Regions from separate parts of the Homo sapiens genome. Here region 2 is linked to region 1. The links are contacts of gene promoters, found by promoter capture Hi-C in human tissues and cell types (Jung and others, 2019). All regions are on one chromosome and are shown on one strand. Each heading gives the region's core, a stretch centred on a gene start or on the middle of the fragment in contact. The rest is flanking DNA. Distances are from core to core; before and after follow the strand shown.

Region 1 (7,743 bases), core at 1,423-3,922:
AGCTACTGACCAAAAGAGGTAGACGCTTCCTCCTCAGATTCTGAATGAATATGCTAATACATGGATCCTATCTCAAGCTACTTCTTACACAGCATTGGCTGACTCTGAACAGATGCCTTTACCCATTTCCTTTTTTTTTTTTAATCCAAAATGTGTTTATTGAGATGGTTTCCCACTCATCTTGATTCAGAGTGCTTTGGGTGCTGCTTCCTCCTGAAGGAACATCCTTCTGTAGCCTTCCTTTTCCTCCTGTAGGCTGGCAGAGAACAGTGGAGCAGGCAACACACAAAACTACCGTTTGTGCATGGCTACAGACCATGGTGATTTTATAGCATCCTGGGCATGTCATATCCATGAAGTAGGAATCGGGACTCTGCACCAGGCGTTTCTTCTTCTGTTTCCTCTTCTCTTCTGGAGAAGGATGAAGGAGATCCCTGTCGAGAGGCATGTTCTCGTGGGTAGGTCGCCACTGCCGGAAAGGACCCATTTCCTATCCTTCAAGCTCATCTGCCCAGCAGCACCAGCACACAAACCAAAGTCCAGGAACACTGGAAGATCCCTACTCCCCGCACCTCTCCAATGACCCTTTTTAAGTTCAGACCTAAGAAGAGTCACCTCCCTAATACCGCAGAGGCTACCTGCTCACCCTCATCTGTGTCTCTGCTACAACACAAACTGGAATGCTTTTGTGTCGGAATGGTAAGAAATGCCTTGTGTGGGTGGCCCTCCAGTCCCCAGTCCAGGGGATGCTGAGAAACTGTGGGGCAGAGTAGGGGACACAAACAGGAAAAAGCAAGTTTGTTTCTAGTGTTATGCTCACAGGGTGGCAGGATATACCTGCTGAGCATTCCCAGAAGGTCCCCAAGGAAACCATTACTGTAAGTCTCTCACTTTCTTCTCTGCCTGATGGTTGGGGTGGGGAGAGGGAAGGAGGGCTATCAAGAGGGGGATGGGCACCCTTCCAGAGGTCAGAGTTATGATGCCCAGGAATAAAAGGTGTTGAATTCAGGATGGAATGTGAAGGTGAACAGCAAAGGGCTTGTCAACATGGGTTGTCACTGGATTACACCGGATGGATTAAGGTAGGGATGGGGGAAGGAGTAGAAGGTGAGTTGGGAGGGAGGGGCTTGTGTGGCACTGAGACCCCCAGCAGGGATGGGGAGAAGGGGTGTTGGCCACCTAAGCTTCCTGGTTTGATCCTTTTTTGGCTGGTTTCAGCTGGGGAAGTGAAGGGTCCTAAGGCTTGGATATGGAGAGGTGGGAATATGGAGAGGTGGGGATATGGAGAGGCGGGGATAAGGAGAGGTGGGGATAAGGAGAGTGGCCCCGCAGCTCCCCTGGTGAACCAGAATACTTTCTCAGGGTTGTTCCCAGGCTGGAGGGAGGGAATTTTAGGGGTACGTAAGGTGACTCCAAGGAGCCTTGGGTGCAAGTACTGGGGGATCCCAGAGACCCAGAAGATGGGGGTAGAAAGGAAGGTGTTTGCCTTCACGGGGAGTAGCCTCAAAATAAGAGGGACTGAGGGAAGTCATTCCAAATGCAGTGGGTAGGTAGTTTAGGCTCTTCCAATGGGATGGGGTGGAGCTTAGACCTCTGCAAAAGAAGGGGGTCATTCGGAGGGGACGGTGCACAGCTGAGGCGTTGGGCTCCTAAACTGGAAACAGGAGGCTCTAAGAGGCACTGCCTTTTCCTCCAGCCTCGGTGTGGTGGGGGTGGTGAGTGTCTGGAACCGGGTTTCCCGAATCAGGACAGGAGTCTGAATGGATCTCACAAAAACCGGCCAGGGAGGGAGAGAACCAGGGGAGACTCCTCACACCGGGAGGTGGGGGTGGCGGCAAACTGAGAACCCGGGCTTGGGGCGCGGGATTTTCTCAACAGACCATAGGGTCCACTAATGTGGACGGCAGGGATTTGGGGAAACTAAGGGGGACTCTCACTTTGGACACCAAGGGCTGAGGACGGATTGGGGAAGAGGATACGGTTTCTACTGGGGTGCTGATGGAGGTTCCCCACTCGGGACGCGAGGCACTGAGTGGGTCCCCCAAACTGGATATGGGATCCTGGGAACGGAGCGAGGGCTCTAAATTAGAGCCCTGGGGTGGGGGTGGGGGGCTGTAAATTAGGTTGGGAGGAAACTGGGGGCTCTGAGGGCGGCTTCTCGCTCCGACTGGGGAAATGGAGCATGTGGGGACTGGGGAGCACTAGGGCTATCTCCCGCCCGACCCGAGGAGATTGGGGTTCTCTTCAATTCTGGACAGCAGGGACCTGAGAGGGAAGACCGGGGGGGTTCCCGATCCGGAACCGAGCTACCTTGAAGGCACCGGGAAGCGCTTCATTCCGGGAGGGCGTTCCCGCGGCCGGGCCCCCGCGCCGGGGTGGGTGGGGGGTGCGGCCGCGCCCTGGTCCCGGCCCGCACCGGGATTCGGGGGTCTCGCTCGGCCCCGGAGACCCAGGAGCCCCGCGGGAAGGGGGTCCCGGCGCCGCCGCCTCCGCGGGCGCCCGGGCTCGCGGGCGAGCGCGGGGCTTTATGCGCGCAGGGCGGCGGGGGGAGGAGCCGGCAGGTCGGCCCCCGGCGGGCCCTCCCCTCGGCCGTCCCCGCCCGCCCGCCCGAGCGGGGTCGGGGGAGGGGGCAGCATGGCCTGTCCGTCCGGCCCCCTTCGCCGCGCTCCTCATCTGCCCCGCGCCGAGCGCCGCCGCCGCCGCCGCCGCCGCCGCTCCGCTGCCCGCGCCGCCCGCGGCTCCCGATGGAGACTGACGCGCCCCAGCCCGGCCTCGCCTCCCCGGACTCGCCGCACGACCCCTGGTACGGCCCGGCCCGGCCTGCTTGGCCCGCGCCCGCCCCGGCCCCGCCAACATGGCCGATCCGGGTCCGGCCGGGCCTCCCCGGAGCCCGGGCCCGCGCCCCCTGCGCCCTGGCGCCCGGCGCTCACGCGGGCCCTTTGTGTCTCTCCTCCTCCCGCAGCAAGATGTTCATCGGGGGACTCAGTTGGCAGACTACGCAGGGTGAGCGAGCCCGGGAGCGCCCGCCGGTCCGGCAGGGCACCCCGGACCCCCCGGCGCCCCGGACCCGGACACCCCAGCCCGGCCCTGCGCCCTGCTGACCCCGGGCGCCCTCGCGCCCTCTTTCGCGCCCCGCCCGGAGACCCCGAGAGCGCAGGGCGATCCGCGAGCGCACCCGGCCCAGCGGGTGGAGGGGAGCAGATGAGGGGTTCAGGGGGTATCGGGGGGTGGGCTGGGCCCCCGGGACCCGCCGGCGGCAGCGCCAACTCCGCTCGCACCTGCGGCTCAAACTTTTGTGAGGCTGCTCCCGGAGCGGCGGGAACCCGGCCGGAGCCGTCCCCCTTCCAGCCCAGCTCGGCCCTCGGCTTCCCGGGGCCCCGGTGGGCGCCAGGAGGCTCAGCGGGAACGGGGCGAGGGCGGTGGGGGGCGGCGGCAGTGGAGAACGCGCGGGCAGCTTGGCGCGGGGGCGGCCGGGCCGCTCCGGGGTCACCGGGGGCAAAGGACGGGGGGGGGGGAAGGGCGCGGGGCCCGGGCTGGTCCGAAGGCGGGTGTGTGGTTACAGAAGGGCTGCGCGAATACTTCGGCCAGTTCGGGGAGGTGAAGGAGTGTCTGGTGATGCGGGACCCCCTGACCAAGAGATCCAGGTGAGCCCCTCACCCCCTCCTCCTGCTCCCGGCTCGCCCCCCTCCACCCGCCACTCACTGCCTTGTAACCATCTGCCTCTCCCTCACTACGGCGCGCAGGGGTTTCGGCTTCGTCACTTTCATGGACCAGGCGGGGGTGGATAAAGTGCTGGCGCAATCGCGGCACGAGCTCGACTCCAAAACAGTGAGTGGCCCTCGGGGCTTCGGGGGTCCTTTGGGAGAGGGAGGCTGCCGGAGGAGAGGGTCAGGACTCTCCCCAGGGGACAGCTGGACGGGGTCCATGAGGAAGGAGGGAGTTTTTCTGAGTAAGAGGGCTGCCATGCTCTGAAACTTTGTCACTAGAGTTGGGGGGGAGAGGGAGGAGAAAAATCCCTGGCCTGCCATGAGATGCTACATCCCCCCTCCCCTAGTCCTGGTGAGGGGAGAGGCAGCCGCCACCCTCTCCCTAGAAGTACTAATCATGATGCCTCAGAGCAGAGCTTGGGGTGGGGCTAGGTCCCTCCCCCAGCCCAAATTGGGTGAGTCAGGGTAGCACTGACCCACCCGGTGGCTTCTGTGAACTCTAACTAGTATTTGGCTCTGCGACACCCCCTCTTCATCCAGACCAATGGCAAAGCATCCCTTGAAGCCCCCTCCCTCTCTCCTTCCCTCCTCCCCCGACTTTTGGTCAATGAGCTCCTTGCTTTGTGTGGAAGACAGGGACCTGCTTTGCCCACGGAGGGGATTTATGAGAAAGGCTCTAGCTTGCCTGGAAACGACCCTTCGGAAGACTAGATCTTAGGAGAAGCTGCTTGGTTGGCATTCAAACTCATGGAACATTTTGCTGTTGTCCCACAGCTCCTTCGTGTCTTAGACCCTGCAGGGGGCGCTGGCTCCAGGGCAGATGGAAAAGTAGAAAAGTCAGAGGAGGGGGTTACTCCCATGTGATGGGGGTGTCTGTCTGCTGGGGGCAGGGATAGTGTGGATCTCTTCTCTCCATGCTTCCCTGCTGTCCCCCAGCCTTGGGCCTCTCTGCTTGGGTCAGTCCCTGGCTCCCGTTTACCTGCAACAATAGCTGCTTGTGCCCAAGAATTTGTCAAATTACCGCCTGTCCCCAGCTCCTGTTATCTCTGCCCAGTGGCTCCCGCTCCCGCTCGCAGTAATGAGCAAATGAGGCCAGGCCTCAACTTTGCCGGCTCTGAAAGGATCTTCTTGGCGCAGCCTGAGTGACCCAAGCCTGGAAATGGAGAGACAGTGGCCTATTGTTTTTGGTGATTATCTGCCATCAAGCTGCCTGTTCTGCTACCATCCCCTGTCCTCAGAATGCACTGATGGCTTCTGCAGTGCTGAGGAAGCTGAGATTTAGGGGCTGGGGGATGGAGGAGTGGAAGATTGATAAAGGGGAAGAGAATGAGGGAGGAAGGAGGGTGAGATGAGCATCCTTAGGAGATGGGGCTGAAAAGGGCCAGGGCTTTGTCTGTGTTTGGCGTCCTCCAGCCTGGGAAAGGGGGTGGGAGGGAGGTTTACTGTGGGGAGTCTATTTTGAGCTCTGACTTTCACCTTTTATTTACTTGTTGGGTTTTATTTATGTTGCCAGCTGTGAGTCACAGTGGAGGTGGGGTGTGTCAGGGATGGGGTGTGCGTGGGTCTGTGGGATCGTGGCTTGGGTACCATCTCCCCATCGGGGTCTGTGTAGGGGGACTGTGTGTGGTGCGCTGGTGGCTGGGGCGGCTGCTTCTGGGAGAAAGAGAAGGATGGACATGTCCGTGGAGGTGTGGAATTGAAACTTCAGGCGGGAGAAATGGGCAGTTGTGATTTTTCCCTGGAGCCCAGTGGGACTTGGCAGGAGAGGAGGCATTGCCCCAGTGTGGATTTTGGAGGTTCCATCTCTGTGGACAGATTCCAGTGGGGGAGCCTGTAGGAGGCTAGTTCCTGGTCTGTGCCATTCAGAGAGAAGCCAGAGCCAGCTGCCTAGAACGAGGCTGAGTTTTGAACAGAAGGAACTTTGGGAAAAGATAGATCTTCCCTGCGATTGGCTGGTGAACTTATGAATGACGTCCACCCATGTGGGTGGCAAAAAGCTCTGGCCTGACCTGGCCCTGTAGGCCCTGCATGGATCACAGCGTCTCATGCCCTGTCTTTTGCTGTTTGTCGTACAGCTATAGTACCCAGGAGTACACCCAGATGCATCTTGATTTTTCCCTCTGGTTGTTCACAGCCAAGGGCAAAGGTGGCCTGCTGGTAATAGCACCTTTGTTTGTGCAATGAAGGGCAGTTCACAAAGGGCCGCTTTCACCCGCGTTATCTCATCTGATTCCCCGCAGCTGCCCCTGGGAAAAGCGGGTGTGATTGTCCCCACTTTGCAGATGAAGGAACTGAGGCTCACAGAGTTCGAGTGCATTACCAAGATCACAGGCTTGGCAAGAGGCCCAGAGTTTCTAGGTCAAGTCCCATGCCCTTTCACGTCACCGAAGACTGCACTCTGCCTTGCCCCAAGCCTAGCTGCATTATCAAGGAGCTGTTTGCTCACAGCCTCAAGGAGAGCTATTTGATGTTGATAGTACTGCGAAAACAGAACTGAGCCTACTCCTGATGGTTATGAACTCTCAGCTTGTAGCCTTTTGCAGACAAAGAGTATTCCCATTTGCAGGGTTTCCAAAGCCTGAATTGCATACCTTACCTAGATAGGTCATCTGTGTGAAGTCAGTTACGCAAGGAAGGCCCTCGATTTACCTGATACTTGAAGGAATAAGACGGCTTACATTTTTTTTGTTTTTGTTTTTGCTGTGAGCTAGACACCATGCCAAATGCTTTGTATGCATTATCTCCAATAATCTGCTGATGACCCTTTGAGGTGGGTGTTATTATTTGCCCATTTTGCAGGTGAACTTGACCCTGACGTTCAAAGAGGGGAAATAACTTGTCCATGGTCTCACAGCTGGGAAGCAGTGCAAATGGGATTTGAACCCAGCAGTGGGACGTTAGGGTCTAAATGCTTAACTGGCTGGGCGTGGTGACTCGTGCCTGTAATCCCGGGACTTTGGAAGGCTGAGGCGGGCGGCTCACCTGAGGTCAGGAGTTTGAAACCAGTCTGGCCAACATGGTGAAACCCCGTCTCTACTAAAAATACAAAAATTAGCTGGGTGTGGTGGTGCGCACCTGTAATCCCAGCTACTAGGGAGGCTGAGGCAGGAGAATCACTTGAACCCGAGAGGCAGAGGTTGCAGTGAGCTGAGATCGTGCCACTGCACTCCAGCCTGGGTGATAGAGTGAGACTCTGTCTGAAGAAAAAATAAAAATAAATGCTTAACCACTATTCTCTCCTCCTAGAGGCTTTTGTGATTTCTGTCACCTTTGTGTCCTGGGAGGAGAGAGGTCCTGAGGGCTGAAGGCTGTGTGGTCGCTCTTCTAAAAATGCGATAACCAAGACCCCTTCTACCTCTCCCTTTTCTTGTAGATTGACCCTAAGGTGGCCTTCCCTCGGCGAGCACAGCCCAAGGTAGGTGTGTCTATGTCTGGGAGGAGCTCTCTTACTATGGGCAATGCTGGGCAGTGATTTTCCCAGTATTTCCTGCTCTGGAAGATGCTTCTGGAACCTCTGCTTGGAGTGTTTGTGGAATGGGCTGGGCTGGGAAGAGGGGATTCTTGACGTCCTTGCTCTGTGGCCTGAAGACACTATATGTCTTTCCACGTGAGCTCTGGGGTGGACTGGAGAGGGGCTTGTGTGTGTTGGGAGAAAGGGGAGCTACTCAGAGGATTCATCGTCCTGTATTTGAACCCAGTAGAGTTTGGAGCCTGAGTCTAATTCCAACATCATAGACCACAGCCTTGATGTCCAGGCCTCTGGAAGTGAAATACAGGACAGACTTAGACCCTAAGGCCGCGCTACAGGCAGGCTAGGGAGCTACCCTTGGATCCCCCCAGTCACCCTTTGCAGAGGCAGAGGGGACCACAGACTCTGTCACCTGTTGTCTTTCAGTTTAGATGTCTGTGGCTGCTTTCTCAATGCTCTCTTACCCTGCTGCTCTGGCGAGTTCTCCCAGTGAGAGGGTCAAGGTGCGCAGAAAATGGATTTCTGAGCAGTTGAGTGATACAACACTCAAAAAACTTTTGGTGCAGG
Region 2 (7,743 bases), core at 1,703-4,202, 150 kb after region 1:
CAGACGCCCTGCTGGCGGACTTGGAGTCTACCACCTCCCACATCTCCAAACGGCCTGTGTTCTTGTCGGAGGAGACCCCCTACTCATACCCAACTGGAAACCACACATACCAGGAGATTGCCGTGCCACCCCCCGTCCCCCCACCCCCGTCCAGCGAGGCCCTCAATGGCACAATCCTTGACCCCTTAGACCAGTGGCAGCCCAGCAGCTCCCGATTCATCCACCAGCAGGTGAGGCGGGGACAGTGGCTGGGAAGGCCAAGGAGGCTGGGGGACAGAGGGAACTTAGCTGGCAGGGGCTTAGGGAGCCAGGGGATGGAATGGAATTGGGGCAGTCGACCCTTCCCAACCAGACACTGCTCTTCCCACTCACCACGTGAGTGGAACAGTGACCAAGTGGTTAATCACAGGTTTCCTGGCCCAACTGTGGAAATTCCCTGGTGAGACTGGCTGTGGGCAGGAGCCTCCTGGGGGTGACTGGAGCTGCTCCTGGCCCCTGTTCCTTTTTCTCCCCTCGGGGTAGCCTCTGAGCATTCTCCTTCTCGCAGCCTCAGTCCTCATCACCTGTGTACGGCTCCAGTGCCAAAACTTCCAGTGTCTCCAACCCTCAGGACAGTGTTGGCTCTCCGTGCTCCCGAGTGGGTGAGGAGGAGCACGTCTACAGGTACTGCCCCAGTCTGCCCAGGGCACCTTCCCTCCTGCTTAGAAATCTCAGGGACCTGGCCAGGGTGGGAGGCAGCGGAGGCCCGGGAGCAGGCATAGCAACTGGGCCTTGTGGGGTTATTCTGGTTTAAGCTGCAGAAGGCCTGTCGGTGGGCCCGTCTACCTCATCAGTGCCATCTCCATGCAGTGGACATTCTGGGCTATCACAGCATCTCCGTGTAGCTGAGGAACTGAAGCAAGACTTCATTCCTCCCCTCTTCTTTTTTTCTTTTTTTTTGAGACGGGGTCTCGCTCTGTCACTCTGTCGCCCAGGCTGGAGTGCAGTCGCGCGATCTCGGCTCACTGCAAGCTCCGCCTCCTGGGTTCACGCCATTCTCCTGCCTCAGCCTCCCAAGTAGCTGGGACTACAGGCACCCACCACCACGCCTGGCTAATTTTTAGTAGAGACGGGGTTTCACCGTGTTAGCCAGGATGGTCTCAATCTCCTGACCTCATGATCTGCCCGCCTCAGCCTCCCAAAGTGCTGGGATTACAGGCGTGAGCCACTGTGCCCGGCCTCCTCCCCTCTTCTTACCACATCCCTTCCCTACCCTCTGTCCTCTTGCGGGGGAAGACTTCGCATCTCCTCTGCCTTGTTCTCCTTGGGAATCTGGGAACTGCCAAGCCAGTACAAGGCCAGAAAGCATCTCTCACTATCTTCTTTCCTTTGCCTCTCAAAGCTTCCCCAACAAGCAGAAATCAGCTGAGCCTTCACCCACCGTAATGAGCACGTCCCTGGGCAGCAACCTTTCTGAACTCGACCGCCTGCTGCTGGAACTGAACGCTGTACAGCATAACCCGCCAGGCTTCCCTGCAGGTAGGACCGGGTCCCTGGGGCAGGGTCTACCAGGGCCCAGGGCCCATCTGCTGACCTCTAGATCCCAGGAGGGCTCAAGGGCTGAGCAGCCTTTTTCTCTCCTCTCTGCAAGATGAGGCCAACTCAAGCCCCCCGCTTCCTGGGGCCCTGAGCCCCCTCTATGGTGTCCCAGAGACTAACAGCCCCTTGGGAGGCAAAGCTGGGCCCCTGACGAAAGAGAAGCCTAAGCGGAATGGGGGCCGGGGCCTGGAGGACGTGCGGCCCAGTGTGGAGAGTCTCTTGGATGAACTGGAGAGCTCCGTGCCCAGCCCCGTGTGAGTACCCACTGGGCCCTCCCCAGGTGGGGAAGGGCTGGCCCAGCCTGCCCCGGGTCCAGTGTCTGTCCCCTTAGCCCTGGTATCACCCACTCCCTCCCGTGTCTGCCATTTGCCAGGCACTGGGGGGATAGTGGTGAGTCACATGGACACCATCCCTGCCTTCAGCCAGTCACTGCCAGTCAGAAAGGACAGACGTTGTGCAGGCTGAGGGCGCCTGGAGCTTAGCAGCTCTTAGCACAGGCTTTGGGGCCACACAGTGGGGTTCACATCTTGGCTCTGACAGTTACTGTCAGCTCTCAAGCCTTAGTTTTCCCATCTGTAAAATGGGACAAGAACTTATGGGATCACTGGGATAAGACCACCTACCTCAGTAAGGGTGAGAACCAGTAATCCATGTAAAGCGCTTGGAATGGTTTCTGGTGTGTAGTGCGTGGCACACATGGTGAGTGCCCAACACGCGAGCTCTTACCAGTGCCGTCGTGTTACTGCAGTAGCCTCACCTCCATGTCCAGTGTTGTGGAGGAAACACAGGGCGCTTGGGCTTGTTTCGCAGGCCAGCTTTCACTTGGGCTGGGGGCTAGAGGAGTCTTCCTGGCACTTCCTGGTGCCATTGAACTGCCCTTTCTTCTGACCCAGTGATGGGTCCCCAGGAGAGACAGGGAGCTGGTGGACCTCCCTGGGGTTGGGGATGGTGAGACCCCAGTGTCCGAGGTGAGAGGTCGATCTGATCCCCGGGAAGTGTGGGGCTGACTGTGGGCTCCCCACTGATGCTGTGCCCACCCTGCAGCCCTGCCATCACTGTGAACCAGGGCGAGATGAGCAGCCCGCAGCGCGTCACCTCCACCCAACAGCAGACACGCATCTCGGCCTCCTCTGCCACCAGGGAGCTGGACGAGCTGATGGCTTCGCTGTCGGATTTCAAGGTGCCCTGTGAACCCTCCATCTTCCCTGCCCTGCCGCCCCTCCCTCATCCTTCTCCTCCCTTACCTCAGTGTGGGTAGCTGGATCTTGGCATCTCAGTGTTTGGGTGCCTTGCCCCTGAGCCAGGGACACTGTCATGCCCTGGCCTTGCTGTGATGCCAGGAGATGGGGAGGGAGGGCCGGGTCAGCCTGCCTGAGGATTGCAGTAGCCAGTGAAGGCAGACAAGCTGGAGAAGTGCTCAGCTGGGACATTCCTTCCTCCCTGGGTGCTCCCAGCCTCTCAGGTCGAGGGGATCAGGAGGCTGGGACGCTGGGACAAAGAACCTTGTGTTGATGGCTGCTCTGGGTGGGGGAGGGCATTCTCTGCTGGGCCATGTGGGACTTGGGAGCCTGTGCCTGGGAGGTCATTTGCCCTGGAGCCCCATCTCCCACGCTAGCTGTCCTCAACACATCCTCTTTCTTTCTGCCTCTGATCCTGAATCCACAAGCCTCCCTTGCTACTCTTCTCCCATCCTTCCCTCTCGCCCTCCAGGGCCTCTGAGTTCCCACGAGCGTGTCTGTGGGAAACCATGGGGCCAGGCTTGCACGAGGTACCTGCCCTTCCCCTCCCCTGCTGGGCCTCCCCAGTCCTGCCAGGCCTGAGATGTTTAATTTAGAGGATTCAGTGTTTCCTTGGGGATTGATATTGACAGAACTCACCAGCAGCTGCTGACTTCATACTTCCACGTGGGTCAGCTGGAGACCTTTGGGGCATGACCTAGGGAATATGAGAGGGGAGTGAACGGTCCCTGCACCCTTGGCCCTGATGGTGTCTCCTAGCCTCCCTTCAGCTGAGGTTTCATGGTGGGAGACAGGAGTGTGGCTGGGGTGGAGGGTTGAGCCTGGCCCTGTGACCCTTGCGTGCTATAGTTCCAGCTCCAGGCCAGTGGTTCTGAGCAGCCATGGTCAGAAGCAAGTAAGTTGGATTCAGGGCCTGGCCTGAGGGAGCTGTGCCCCGGTGCTTTTAAGGCTGCCGTTTTCTCAGACAGCCTGTGTCCTGATGCCAGGAGAAGCAGCAGTGGTTTTAGTCAGATCCCTGGAGCAAGGATGTGGAAGACGTAGAGGACTTGGGGTGTAGGAAAGCTGGGATTGTCCGGAGGGACATGGCCGAGTTGGGCCAGTGTCCGAGGCGGGTTCAGCAGCCCCTGGGGCTGGCTCTCCCTCCATTTGTGCCTGGGGCTGTCTTCCGTAGCCACCTGGCTCCCCATTTGTCCACCTTACCGTGGTCTTTTCTTTCTCATACCCTCCCTGGGTGGCTCCACAGGCACGGCTTGGTGGCTGCTTTCTCTTGCTTGGGTTTGGTGAGGGCTAAGCACGCAAAGCCCAGGGAAGCTTTTTTGGGGTCTGGGTCTCCTTCAAGGGTCAGTCCTGTGCGTCAGCTTTGCAGCCACCTTGGTCAGCCCTAAGGCCGAGCCCACCGCCTGCAAGGTGCAGCCGTCCTCACTCCCCTCATCTCTCTCTCTCCTCTCCCCTCTGCATTTCTCTCTTCTCCAGACCAGCTCCTCCACTGTGGCTCTGAGTGCCCCGGGGCTGTCCAGCTCTGCTCCGTCCTCATACTGCTCCCTTCCTCCTTCTCCTCCTCCCATGCCATCTGTATTTCTGCCACCCACCACTATACCCTCCCCTCGAGGCCAGGGCCACACTCCGGAGTTCCCTTGTACTGAGCAGAGTGGACGAGGCCTTCTACCTCCTGTAGCCCCCAGCTGGCTTGATTTGGCTGGTCTTGGGGTGATGCCTGACACCTTCAACTCAAGGTCTCCCTCTGTGGAGGGTTCTCTGTGGGCAGTGGGCACAGAGAGTCAGGGTCGAGATTGGAGGCACCTGCCGACCATCACAAGTGAGCTCTCTGGGGCTCCCCGCTGCCACACTGTACCCTGTGCTGGGAGCACAGCTCTCCAAGAGCCTGGGGAGCCCCAGGGGCCACCAGCCAGCCCTTCGTGCCCAGAGGAGGCCTTGGCTGCCACATGGGAGCAGCCATGGGCTTCGGAGGTATTCGGGCCTGAGAGAATGCCCCCCTCTGGAGCTGCTCGAAGCTTCCAAGAAGTAACAGAGCCAGCTGTAGTGGCAGTGGACCGGCAGGCCATCTTCCCAGATACCTGGACTCTCACGGAGGAACATGGCCTACAGCAGGAGAGGCCAAGGCCAGAGCCAGGGAGGCTGGGAAGCAGCTCCCCTGCCTCAGTTACCACGGAGCAGCTAGGTGCAAAGATGACCGAGAGGGGAAGTGTGGCCAGGCCAACCCAGGGACCTGAAACCCCAAGGAGCCCAGAGGGCACCACGGAAGCTGCCACCCAGGACGGGAAGGAACAGCCAGAGCTTCCATGTGCCATGGCCATGGGCACACCCAGCACCACGGAGAGGATTTCCACCTCTGGCCAGGCAGGCACCAGCTCGCATGGCTGCTGGGCATGGCCATTGGCGGGTCTGAGTGTGGGCCGCTCCTCGCTAACTGCATGCAGCCTCCCACTCTGCGCATGTCTGCTTGGGCAGAAAATGCTGAGACACTGTGGCCGGACCTGACAGTCAGCACTTGGCAGTGGGCTCTGTGGACCCAGCATTTCTCATAGCGTCAACCCACCTCTTGCCTTGTTGAGGCTTTTTCCTTTCAGATGAGCTGTCCTTGACATTCTGATGTGGTGAAATGGTTAGCAGCATGGACTTTGGAACCAGATAGACCTAGATACAAACCACATGTCTAACACTTGCTACCTCTGTGACCTTGGGCAACCCCCTCCCTCAGCCTCAGTTTTCTCATCTGTAAAGTGGGGAGAATTTCCATCAAGATTGTCCGGAGACCTAAATGAGATAATTCCTGGAAAGTGTTTAGAACACAGCATGTGGTCCCTCAATAGGCCGTGGCTGACAGTACTTTTATTACTTGCTTTTTGCTTAAATTAAAACTTTATGCCGGGCCAGGTGTGGTGGCTCACGCCTGTAATCCCAGCACTTTGGGAGGCCGAGGCGGGCGGATCACCTGAGGTTGGGAGTTCGAGGCCAGCCTGACCAACATGGAGAAACCCCATCTCTACTAAAGATACAAAAAGATTAGCTGGGCATGGTGGCGCATGCCTGTAATCCCAGCTACTCAGGAGGCTGAGGCAGGAGAATCACTTGAACCCAGGACGCAGAGGTTGCGGTGAGCCAAGATCATACCATTGCACTCCAGCCTGGGCAACAAGAGTGAAACTTGGTCTCAAAAAACAAAAACAAAACAACAACAACAACAAAAAACTTTATGCCTCACCCTGGCACAGTAGCTTATACCTGTAATCCTAGCACTTTGGGAGGCTGAGGCAAGAGGATCGCTTGAGCCCAGGAGTTTGAGACCAGCCTAGGCAACACAGTGAAACCCTGTCTCTACAAAAAATTAAAGATTAGCTGGGCGTGGTTGCACATGCCTATAGTCCCAGCTGCTGGGGAGGCTAAAGCAGGAGGATGGCTTTAGCCCAGGAGTTTGAGGCTGCAGTGAGTTGTGATCGCACCACTGCATTCAGCCTGAGCAACAGATCAAGACACTGTCTCAAAAAAAAAAAAAAAAAAAAATCCCCCAAGCTTTATGCCTCTTTGGAAAACAAAACGAAACAACCAAAAACCCCCAAAACACTACCAACAAGTATAATAGCATAATATAATATTAGCATAATAATATAAATAAGAAAAAAAAAACTAGTTAAAAAAGTTCCTGGCTAGCTGAGCACGGTGGCTCACACCTGTATTCCCAGCACTTTGGGAGGCCGAGGCAGGCAGATCACGAGGTCAGGAGTTTGAGACCAGCCGAACCAACATGATGAAACCCCATCTCTACTAAAAAAAAAAACAAAAAACAACAACAACAAAAATTAGCCAGGCGTGGTGGTGCATGCCTTTAATCCCAGCTACTCAGGAGGCTGAGGCAGGAGAATCTCTTGAACCCAGGAGGCGGAGGTTGCAGTGAGACCAGATCGCGCCACTGCATTCCAGCCTGGGCGACAGAGCGAGACTCTGTCCCCCCCCAAAAAAAAGTTCCTGGAAGGAAACACTTTTTCTATTATAAATTAAAAAAAAGAAAAAAGAAAAAGCCGTATGCCTTGTCAAGGGCATGCACTTACATCCTCTGGAATAATTCTTGTGCAAACCCTGTGCGGTAAGCCAAGAAAATCTTGTGGTTCCATTTTAAGGAAGGGGAAGCTGAGGCCCATGGCAATTAAGTGTCTTGCCCAAGGTCAGTGGCCAACTTAGAGGTGAATGCTGGGTCAGAGGTCTCGCTCGCAGCCTGTGCTTCTGGAGCCAGTCCGATCTGCCCCCTCCCCTTGCCTCTACCCACCTCCACCGGTCCAATCTGCCCCCTCCCCGTGCCTCCACCCACCTCCGCTTGGTTCTTTGGTGGTTTTCTTTTGTGCTCCCTCTCCTGAGGCATCTGAGTGTGGCCTGAGCAGCGTTGTGCAAGCTGGGAGTGGGACGGTGACAGCCTCCCCTCCCCCTCCCCCTAGATCCGATCTGTGATCAGGAGGAGCTGGGAGTCTGGCCACGCACACCCCATGTCCCGGGAGCCCTCCCCTCGCCGCCGGCTGGACCCTGCCACCTTGAGCAGGACCCCATCCCAGGAACAGCTCATCGCGGAGCTGCAGGGGCGGCTGGGCATCCAGCCTGAGGCAGAGGAGCCGGCGGAGGCGGCGGGGCCCTCTGCCCAGGACTGGCTGACCGAGGGCGTCATCATCACTGTGCAGCCACGTGGGAAGCGGGCCGGGGGGCAGCTCGTAGAGAAGGTGGCGAGGAGATGCCCATGGCTGGGGCTGGGCCAGAGCCAAGCACCTGGGGTCCGGGTTCTTCCCTGGCCCCAGTGCTGGCCGGAGGGGAGATCTGGGGAGAGGGTGGGGGTTTCTTGCCTCCTGTGACTTTGGAAGACTGGCCCCACTCTTGGTGCAGAGTGGGAAGGCCCAGGGGGAGCCTGGGGAGGTCCCGCCACCCC

The links. The method cuts DNA at HindIII sites, captures the fragments that hold promoters and counts their contacts. A contact is called where the count stands out against the background at its distance.
Region 2: a contact is called between a fragment that was not itself captured here and the fragment with the promoter of MSI1 in region 1, in 2 of the 25 tissues and cell types used here (dorsolateral prefrontal cortex and lymphoblastoid cells).

Annotation. Positions count from the first base shown.
Region 1 is chr12:120,364,093-120,371,835 of GRCh38, reverse strand. MSI1 (musashi RNA binding protein 1) reads left to right here and starts at 2,672. Exons shown (of 15, transcript NM_002442.4): 1 at 2,672-2,803; 2 at 2,963-3,003; 3 at 3,563-3,644; 4 at 3,744-3,828; 5 at 7,081-7,122. The coding sequence starts at 2,745. It also overlaps the pseudogene RPS27P25. RefSeq lists a silencer at 5,919-6,109. The HindIII fragment of the contact is 19,353 bases long and covers 364-7,743 here.
Region 2 is chr12:120,216,638-120,224,380 of GRCh38, reverse strand. PXN (paxillin) reads left to right here. Exons shown (of 15, transcript NM_001385981.1): 2 at 4-230; 3 at 548-663; 4 at 1,382-1,518; 5 at 1,631-1,832; 6 at 2,623-2,758; 7 at 4,290-5,174; 8 at 7,265-7,540. LOC124903034 (a long non-coding RNA gene) reads right to left here and starts at 4,290. Exons shown (of 3, transcript XR_007063487.1): 1 at 3,456-4,290; 2 at 1-3,066. RefSeq lists an enhancer at 7,651-7,743. The HindIII fragment of the contact is 5,273 bases long and covers 316-5,588 here.